3 separate regions of the Homo sapiens genome follow, and regions 1 and 2 are each linked to region 3. The links are contacts of gene promoters, found by promoter capture Hi-C in human tissues and cell types (Jung and others, 2019). All regions are on one chromosome and are shown on one strand. Each heading gives the region's core, a stretch centred on a gene start or on the middle of the fragment in contact. The rest is flanking DNA. Distances are from core to core; before and after follow the strand shown. Region 1 has its middle 86 kb from the start of MSRB3-AS1. Region 2 overlaps HMGA2 (high mobility group AT-hook 2). Region 3 holds the start of HMGA2 (high mobility group AT-hook 2).

Region 1 (2,972 bases), core at 128-2,627, 96 kb after region 3:
CCGGGGGAGCCGCCCTTCGCCCCCGAGGTCTGGGCGCGCAGGAGGTATAGGACTCTGGGATTTTTTGGCCAAAACTCCGGCTCGGGGTCCCCGCCGCCTGGAGCGGGAAAGTTGCGCGTTGGAGAAACAAACTTTTCCGTCCCCAGGGCAGCGCGGGGAGCTCGCGGACAGGTCCTCTGGCAGCAGAGAGGGAGCGGTGCAGAGGACCGGGGACTGAGGAAGGAGGAGTGCGGGACCGCTCCCCGAAGGTGCCTCCTGCCGAGGCCACCGAGGCCGTCCTGGAGATGGCGTCGGCTCCTGAGTCTGCGGCGCCAAAGTGCTCCCAGGTGGCGCGGAGCGAAGGGGGTTTAAATTTCTCCCTCCTCGCAAACGTCCCCTTGCTTCGGGCCGGAGAGTATTGCGCCCAGACACCTCTCGAGGAAGGGAGATTGGACTTTCCCAGATTGGAGGGAAATTTAGAGCTGGCATTTACAGTTATTGTAAAAGAAAAAAAAGTGTTTTGAGGAGAAGAGGTGAAGGGTAGGAGAGGAGAAGTGTTAAAATTTCGACCAAACCACGAGAAACCTCACTTGTTTTAAGTTCGTGACAGTTTATTGGCTTTCCCTAAATGTCCTCAGATTAGCCTGACAGCTCCTTACCTAAAAATATCGAGTAAAAGCCCCCAAACCAGAAGCAGTTAAACGGTGTCACTGAATTCAATCTCAGAGCGATTATGGAGTTAATTCACATAATAAGCAAATCACAGAGTTGACAGATTATTATATGAACACGGACAAATTGTTACATAAAATATTTTGATACTGATTGTTTTATTAGTAATGTTAAGCCCCTTTATGTCTGTTTCTTTTTCCCGGGATTGACATGTTATACAATGCTCACTGCTAAATAAATAAACCAAAATGGTGTGAACTAATTGTCTCCCTCATTTAACTGTACCTTTTTATTAACATTATTAACATGATTATTCATAATTCCATTGGCTATTTACACTGGCAAAATTTTTCTGTTGTATTTGTTATCCACAGAGAAAAATATGTTAACATGAAGTGGACTTGAATAACATCCAGGTTTGAAAACTGACACTATCGATGTTTAAAAATATGTTAAGAGTTGTTCTATCCCTAGACTATTAGAAAATTTAAACTGCACGTGCCCCAGCTAATTAAAAACAATTTAAATTATTATTAAGAGAAAATACAAGGGATATAATCATTAGTCAAAACTTACTCATTTAAGTGTTGTCAAATGTAGTCAAAACTTACAAAAATACATTTTATTTAGCAAAGAAAAGATAAATGTAATTTATTTTTCATTTTATCAAAAAGGTATGGTACATTTTACTTAATTTTATGTAATTATGCTTTCTAGTTTTAATAGAGCCATGTGCATATACAATCAAAATGATTAATAGGTATTTTGTTGATAAAAGGAAAAACAGAAACTCAATTCTTTATATTTCTACTAAAGCTTCCTAAACAAGAAAATATTTTAGCTAATGAAAAATCTTGAATACCTTAAGTGGGGTGTTATAGATCACAGCAGAAATAGGTGAAAGGTGAAATTTAATTTAGCTGGCTTTATCCCTTCTCCTGGAAACTGGAATCTTACCTATAGGGTGAGGTGTACTGGGAGGAGAGGTGGAGAATTGGAAAAGAAAAAGGAAGAAACTGAAAGAATTTTAGTTTATAAAGAACAACATAAGTACATCAATAAATCACGTATTTTTCCTATAAAAAATAAAGTACAATAGTACTTTATTGAGTAAAATAAATAAAAAAAGTACTTTAATGAGTAAAATCATTAAAATTTCCTACAACACAGAGGAAGTAAGTGTTCAAGCAGTACCACCTATACCATCATATCATTCTCTGAGTGCCAATTTAACTAAAATTATGTCTTCTAGTAAGAGAAGTAAGAAAATTCAGAAAGATCACCAAATAAGTAGTGTTTTGGGGGAGGGCACGTGTAGTATTAATAGCATAGAAGATACTAACTGTGGCACAGATTTTTTTTCTTTTTCTTTTCTTTTCTTTTTTTTTTTTTAAGATGGAGTCTCACACTGTTGCCCAGACTGGAGTGTGATGGCTTGATCTCGGCTCACTGCAACCTCCACCTCCCGGGTTCAAGCCATTCTCCTGTCTCCACCTCCCAAGTAGCTGGGATCACAGGCACCCGCCACCACACTTGACTAATTTTTTGTATTTTTAGTAGAGGCAGAGTTTCACTATGTTGATCAGGCTGGTCTGGAACTCCTGACCTTGTGATCTGGCCACCTCGGCCTCCGAAAGTGCTGGAATTACAGGCATGAGCCACCATGCCCGGCCTCAATATGAGAATTTGAGGTATTTCAGAGAAAAGCATCACCAGGATTAGAAATTTAAGTTACATCAATTGAAAATATGAAAGGATTTAAGATTATGACCCTGAAAGAAAAGATTCAAGTTACTAGCAATCATATTCGGTTATTTAAGGGTTATCCTTAGAGCCCTGGAGTTGGGACATGCTGAAAGATTTAATAAGAAGAAAGGAGACTTTAATAGCATTGGGAGAAACTGACATTAGACCCTGAAGACTTTCTTGATTATAAAGTTATTGAATTATAACAAGTCACTAAGCAAAGCATGCTTACAAAACTGTACCTCAACTACTTGCTTAATTTACCTTAATGTTTAGAATATTCTAGACCAACTGGCCAAGAAAACTGGATCTGAGATCCTTCTGGTTGTTTATTGTGAAGTTCTGCATGGAAATAAAAAATATGCAGTTGTATTCCATTAGGATATTGTTTTTGGTAGTAGATTCTTTTTTGTTTGTTTGTTTGTTTGTTTTTCTTCTGTATTTCTACAATTTATTTGAGGTTTAAAAAAATAGCCATCTACTAGTTTGGGCTGACGACATAAACTCTCTGAACCTCATTTTTTTCAATGGTTATAATAATTCCTGCATCATAAGTTGGCTTTATAATCAAATAT
Region 2 (3,155 bases), core at 314-2,813, 68 kb before region 3:
AACAAAATAAATGCTCTCAATGACCCTGATTCAGGATTCCCTATAAATGGAGTGTACATCTCCACCACTATAGAGTTCTCTGAAATCTTGCCAGATGCATAAATCCTTGAAACATCTTCTAAAAGATAAGAATGAGCTTGGAAAATAGATCATCAAAGAAATATGCAGTGCCTATAAAATAAACCACACACATACACACACAATTTTCATTTACCAGATCCTCTTCCACAAATCTAGCAGATGGTAGAGTTTTAAAACTAAGTTTTTCAAACTGCAATCTGATTTTCTATTTAAAATAGAATCCTTAACACGTTAGAAAAAAATGCAGTGAATATCATACAAACACCAGAGGCATACAACCAGGCTCACGATAAGTTGGCCAACGGAAGAAATGTATAAAATTTAATCAGAACTGTGCATTCAAAACCATTATAATACCAATTGTTAGCTAGACAAGTTTTTACTCCCCTCTATGTATCATTTCTTTATAGTACTAAAGTCTACAAAAAAAGTGAATTAAAAAATATCATCACAAGCACTCTTCTTCAGCCAGTGACATTTTCAAGTGCTCTGAGCCATACCAAACACAAGAAGAAACAGCTACCCCATGAAGGCTATACTCTAAATACAGTGGGAAAGTCAAATATCAGTTTTGCCTTTTCTCCTCTTAGAGGATTCAAACTATCCTAACATCCTTCCCTTTCCATCCTTATCTCCCAAAATTACACCAATTAAACTTTGCAACTTCATTGCTTAACTCTTGGAATAAAGCTCATTTTGACCTCTTTACCAGTAGCCATTCACCCCCTGAAATGCAGGACAGCTCTAAACCTCGAAGGCTGCAGTCAAACACAAGAGGGTTCTCACCAGCCGCTACCTCTGAAACCCTACAATGTTTGCAAAGGATGAAAAATCTCTAACAAGGAGGTGGTTTCAAAAACCAGTCCTGTTCTGCATCCATTTGCAAATACTAATAGAGAGGTGGATTCAAATGCTACCTTAAAAAATTTCCACATTTGAAACTTGTACCCTCAGGAAGAAAAAGAAAACCACTTTGAAGAAACAAAAATTATAACAAATGAGGTGGTTTGTTCTTTTCGCATGTATCCATTTGGCCTTGTTGAATTCTGGAGTACCCTGTCATGGCATATCTTGTCATGAAACTAAATGCCTTAGGTTTTAGCTGTGACCACACTGGGGTGAGGAGACAGTAGATGTTGCTATGAACAAAATGGGTCTTGCTGCAGCCCTTAAAGGTCCTCCTGTACTAACAGCAATTCGAGAGTTGAGCTGTAATTTCACCCTCCTTCATGCAGGACCTTGTCTCCCCTTCCACAGGAAATGGGGGCTGAGTCAGTGGGGCATGACTATAATAGGAGCCTGTGACCGGGGTGCAGTGTAGCCATCAGTATAAATCTGTCATAGACACACTCGCAGAGGAAGAGGGACTTCCATACACTGCCGTCTTTACACTTTTTGATGCAGATACAGATTTATGACACACGGGAAGCAGAGAGTCTTTGAGCCAGAGGGGCCCTGTGAATCAAGGCCATTTTGTAGGTTTCCGCCGCTTGAAAGAGCTACACATTTATAATTGTGCTTGAAGTCAGCCCCCTTCCAGCCCCAGGAGGCAGCATCATTTGGTTGAAATAAAACTGAGGACTTTTCTCAACAGCTGGCCAGCTCTAGTTTTAAGTTTTAACAACAGGATGAATGGATTGAGGACGGCTGAAGGCATCAAAAAGTGCTATGCCAGACTTTTAGGGACCGTTTTCCTGACGACCCCATTCCCATGGATCAGATTCTCTCGGAGATGACAAACTCTACTTTGAAGGGTCCCCTCGCTTTGGTCACCCAACACAGATGACTCTTTCACCAGGATACTTAAAAGCGATCCAACTGAGACCTTACAAAAATGTCTAACAAGTTTCAGGCAAAAAAAGAAAAGACAAAAAAGAGTCAGCTAGGAGTAAATGAAAAACCTGTCCAGAGTTGGTGTTAATTAATTAAAAACACAATTTCAAAGCATCCCTAATAGAAGACTTCCTCCGTGCAGCCAGTATCTGATTCAGGGAGTGACTCAAGCAATAAAATCACAGTTGGGACGACTCTCGTGGTGCTGGCAGGCCAAGTTCAATATTTTCCCTGTGAGGCATGCCTGTACTATAAAAAGAATGTGATGTTTGAAAATGAGTGTCTCTGCTCTGTGTGCTGGCATTAAAAGTCTCTCCTAGCCCTCCTGCCACATTTTGAGAGTACAGTATGAATCACAATCATGTGACGAGCACCTCCTTGCCAAATTCTTTCATGCTGCTACCACGGTATGTTCCCTCTTAGGTTTTTGCCAGCAGCCTCTGTCCTCCAGCCAAGACCATCAGAGTGAGTGTCGGCGCAGAGGCAGAGCACTCCGGTCCAGATTCACCAGCGAGAAGACAAGGCAGCGCATTATTGTACAAACTGTAATCTCTGAATTGACTAAGTGAGCAGGAAGGGACAAAAGTCAGCTGAGAGATGCAGCAAACAGGCTGCCAAGAGAGGATGAAACACACAGAAAAAGGGACTGACCTTTGGAGGGTAGCCTCCGTTGTGCTGGGCACGGGACTGGGCTCTTTAAACTCATGCTCTTATTTAATACTCCTGAGAAATGATCATTAATACTATGAGTGAGGAAACTGAGACCCACAGTTATTAGATAAGTCACTTGCTGCAGCCACGCAGCACAGGGCAGCAGAGTTGGGGCTGGAACCCAAGCTAGTGTCCTGTCTCTTCTCTCTCTATTCTACTGCTTCTGATTCTGCAGCTCAAACTTGGAGAAGCCAGGAAAACTGCTCTTCTCCCATCTTGGGCATTTTATTATTTACGCGACTCTTAACCAGCACTGTGCATCATGTCACTTTCAACAATGCATGTTGATGAAACATTTGTCAGCCAGATTAACAGCCGTAGGACCAATCTTCCACAGCCATGACCACAGAACGCACCCCCAAGCCTAACTGTCTTCCCTAAATGCTGCTCCAGTGTCACAATGGGAACTGGGAGAGTGTGTGGAGGAAAATATTATTGTAGTTCAACATCATGAATCACTACTGATGGAACCACTCAAAGTTTATCCCCTACTTACATCTGCATTTCCTTTGTGTTCATTTATTGCTGTG
Region 3 (2,922 bases), core at 116-2,615:
AGAAAGAGCCTCCGGCCCCCAAGACTCTAGCCCCTTCAGCCCAGATCGGCCGAAGCGCCCGGGTCCCCGGCACCTCCTTCCTCCCGGGCAGTTGCAAAAGCAACTCGGAAAGCGCCTGCGAGCCCGGGTTTGTCGGATCCCGGTCGCTTCCAGTCACTGGGCGACACCGCGCCACTCGGGGCCGTGCACAATAGCGAAAGTCCGAGGACGCGCTTCGCCCGACCCCACCTCCCGCCTTCCCCGGGCCGCCCGCCGCGGCTCCCCACCTCCCCGCCCGGAGGGTTGCTGGCGCCCCGGGGCCGCGCGGCGCACTCGTGGGGTCTGCGCCGCTCCCCCCGGCCGGCCGGCGGGCAGTGTGCGACGGCCGCGGCGACTGGGCTCCCGCACTCCGGCCGCCCCGCGCGTGTCTGGGCCCCGGCAGTGGGGACGGGGTGGGCTGGTGCCCCCACCGCGCCCTCGTACTGACTTGCTGCTGCTTCCTGGGGCGGCCGCGTCCTCTCTTCTGAGGCGCTGGGGCGGCAGGTTGTCCCTGGGCTGAAGTGGACGGCTGCCCCGCGCCCTCACCGCGTGCGCTCATCCTGCCTCCCGCCGCCGCTACCGCCGCTGCAGCCGCTTCGCCTCGACCGCCCCGGAGCTGCCCAGCACCTTTCGGGAGATGAGGTGATAGGGCTGGGGACGCCGGCGGGGCGAGCGCGAGCTGGCGGGCTGCGAGGGCTGCTGTTGCTTAGGCTGCCGCCGCTGCCACCATCAACACCGGACGTCCAGCGGCTGCCAAAAAGAGAAGAGGGGAGGAGGAGGAGGAGAGGAGGAGGCGCTGCCGGTGGCGGCGGCGGCGGTGGGTGGGTGCCGGAGGTGGAGGTGGCGGTGGAGGTGGAGGTAGCAAGAGGAGGAGGGAAGCGAGGGAGAAGGAAGAGAGGCTTTGAGGTCGCAGAGGCTCCTCTCGCGGGTTGGGATCAGGAGTTGCGGGCACCGGGAGCACTTCGGAAGCGGCTTGGAAAGGGAAGAGACTTGGAGTGAATTGTGTCCCTTGAAATGTTAGGCGGGGAAAGAATTCCTCCTCCTCTTCCCCCCACCCTGCGAGAGAGAGAGAGAGAGAGAGAGAGAGAGAGAGAGAGAGAGAGAGAGAGAGAGAGAAGAGATTGAGATTGAAAGTGCCTTGGGCAGTCGGAAAGCAAAGGAGGATGGGGAGACTCCGCCGGGATAGGGTCGGGCACGGAGCACAGGCAGAGGACAGAGTAGTGGGTGGCACCGCGCCTCCTAGGGTGGCGGGAGCAGGCAGCGGCGGCACCGGAGAGTCGGAGGGGGACGGGCTGCTAGCTCCTGAGTCTTGCACCAAGCGCGCGCTGCCCGGGCTGGAAGTTTTCTGAGTTCCTGCCCCAAGATTCAAGTGGGATGAGTGTGTGTGAGTGTGTGTGAGTGTGAGTGTGTGTGGTGTGTGTGCGTGCACGCGCTTGCGCTTGGGGAGGGGGTGGTGGTGGGGGGAGTGCCCACCTCTAATCGTGGGCGGATAAAGGGGAGGGGGTTGCGCAGGAAGAAAAGTATGAGGAGGAGGGAGGCCAGGCGGACCGCCGAGCCAAGGCGCCTGGCTGCTAGCCAGAGGCAGCGTTCGAAATACAACTGCCTCGGCGGCGGCGGCGCCCGGGTGCCACCCGGAGCCCCGCTCACGTGCTCCCGCCCGGCGGCGGGGTTAAAGGGACAGGCCGGGGATCCCGGGCTGGCTCGCCGTGGGCCTAGCTCCACCCGCCTCTCGAGGTCACCCCTGGGCAGTTGTCCTGGGAAGGCGCGGGAACGTGACTGTCCCGGAGCCACGTTTCGGGGCTTGGCCTTTACCTGCGCCTCTACCGTGCCGAGCCAACACTTTGCAGGAAGCGTCTAGGCTGCACCTCAGGCAGCGCACCGGTTCACTGTGAGTGGGAAGGGACTGCAGTGGAGTGGGAGAGGTCCCCTGACAGCCGTACTCCGCCTCGGAATGCCCTCACCACAGAGCCTGCGGGCGGGCGAGCGCGCACATACACGGAGACATGCATGCAGATACACACGAACACGCGTGTAAGCACATGCACGCAGATACACGTGGACACGGGGGCATTCATGCGCTGGTAAACACCCGCATTTACACACACACACATACACACAGGCACGCAGATAGACATGCACATTCGCAGACACATGCAAACAATGTGCACACACAGAGCGCCCCAGCTTCTTCATTGAACTTTTTTCTCCAGGAAAGACTAGAGGCAACCGAAGTTCCCTCCCCATCCCCCTCCCCGGGAATCCGATGTTCCCAGGGTAAAGGGCACCTTGTAGATTCCTAACACCACAATTGCACTCACTGCCCAACTCTCCCTTCAGTTTACCTCGATTTAACCTTCTGCCTGAGAACTCTCTTTCTGCCAAGTCCTAATTTTATGGCCTGGGCTGTTCTGAGTTATGTGAACACCATAATGGCCACAGTCCGTTTTTAAAAGGTGGAGTACATTTTTAAATGTACCTCTTTTCATCCTTGAATAACACAAAACTCTGAAAAAATTAGGTTCAGATTTTCACACATCACACCCAAAATTATTTTGGACTAATTCCAAAATAAAAACTTTCACCTGGGGAAGAATTTATTTTTTTCAAAGATACAGACCACCGTGGAATAAAAACGCCTACTTTGCAGCCCTAAGCAGGAGTTAGGCACCGCCAGGTTCCGCTGTGCATGTGGAGGAGGCGCGTGTAAATGTCTGCTTTGGCGCGGCAGCGCTGATTGGTCCGCGTTGCCATTTTAAATCCATTTCCAGCTGCCCTTTGCAGAGCTGGGACACTTTGCTGCACGTTGAGTGCTCTGCAGGAACCCAGGGTTTCTGCTGGGTCTGGGAACGCTTAGCTGTAATGGAGAGAGAGAGCCTCCATCCCTCCGGATGGAGCCCAGCAGCT

What was found. Contacts are between HindIII fragments. The study calls those that stand out against the background at their distance.
Region 1: a contact is called between a fragment that was not itself captured here and the fragment with the promoter of HMGA2 in region 3, in 4 of the 25 tissues and cell types used here (IMR-90 fibroblasts, aorta, mesenchymal stem cells and 1 more).
Region 2: a contact is called between a fragment that was not itself captured here and the fragment with the promoter of HMGA2 in region 3, in 2 of the 25 tissues and cell types used here (neural progenitor cells and pancreas).

Annotation. Positions count from the first base shown.
Region 1 is chr12:65,726,454-65,729,425 of GRCh38, reverse strand. No RefSeq gene overlaps it. Among named protein-coding and RNA genes, the nearest start is that of MSRB3-AS1, 86 kb to the right of the region's middle. The HindIII fragment of the contact is 9,120 bases long and covers 1-2,972 here.
Region 2 is chr12:65,891,313-65,894,467 of GRCh38, reverse strand. The region is part of intron 3 of HMGA2 (high mobility group AT-hook 2); the gene reads right to left. Among named protein-coding and RNA genes, the nearest start is that of HMGA2-AS1, 11 kb to the right of the region's middle. RefSeq lists enhancers at 2,145-2,439, 2,080-2,992. The HindIII fragment of the contact is 4,443 bases long and covers 1-3,155 here.
Region 3 is chr12:65,822,926-65,825,847 of GRCh38, reverse strand. HMGA2 (high mobility group AT-hook 2) reads right to left here and starts at 1,365. Exons shown (of 5, transcript NM_003483.6): 1 at 467-1,365. The coding sequence starts at 577. It also overlaps the pseudogene RPSAP52. RefSeq lists an enhancer at 1-245. The HindIII fragment of the contact is 9,780 bases long and covers 1-2,922 here.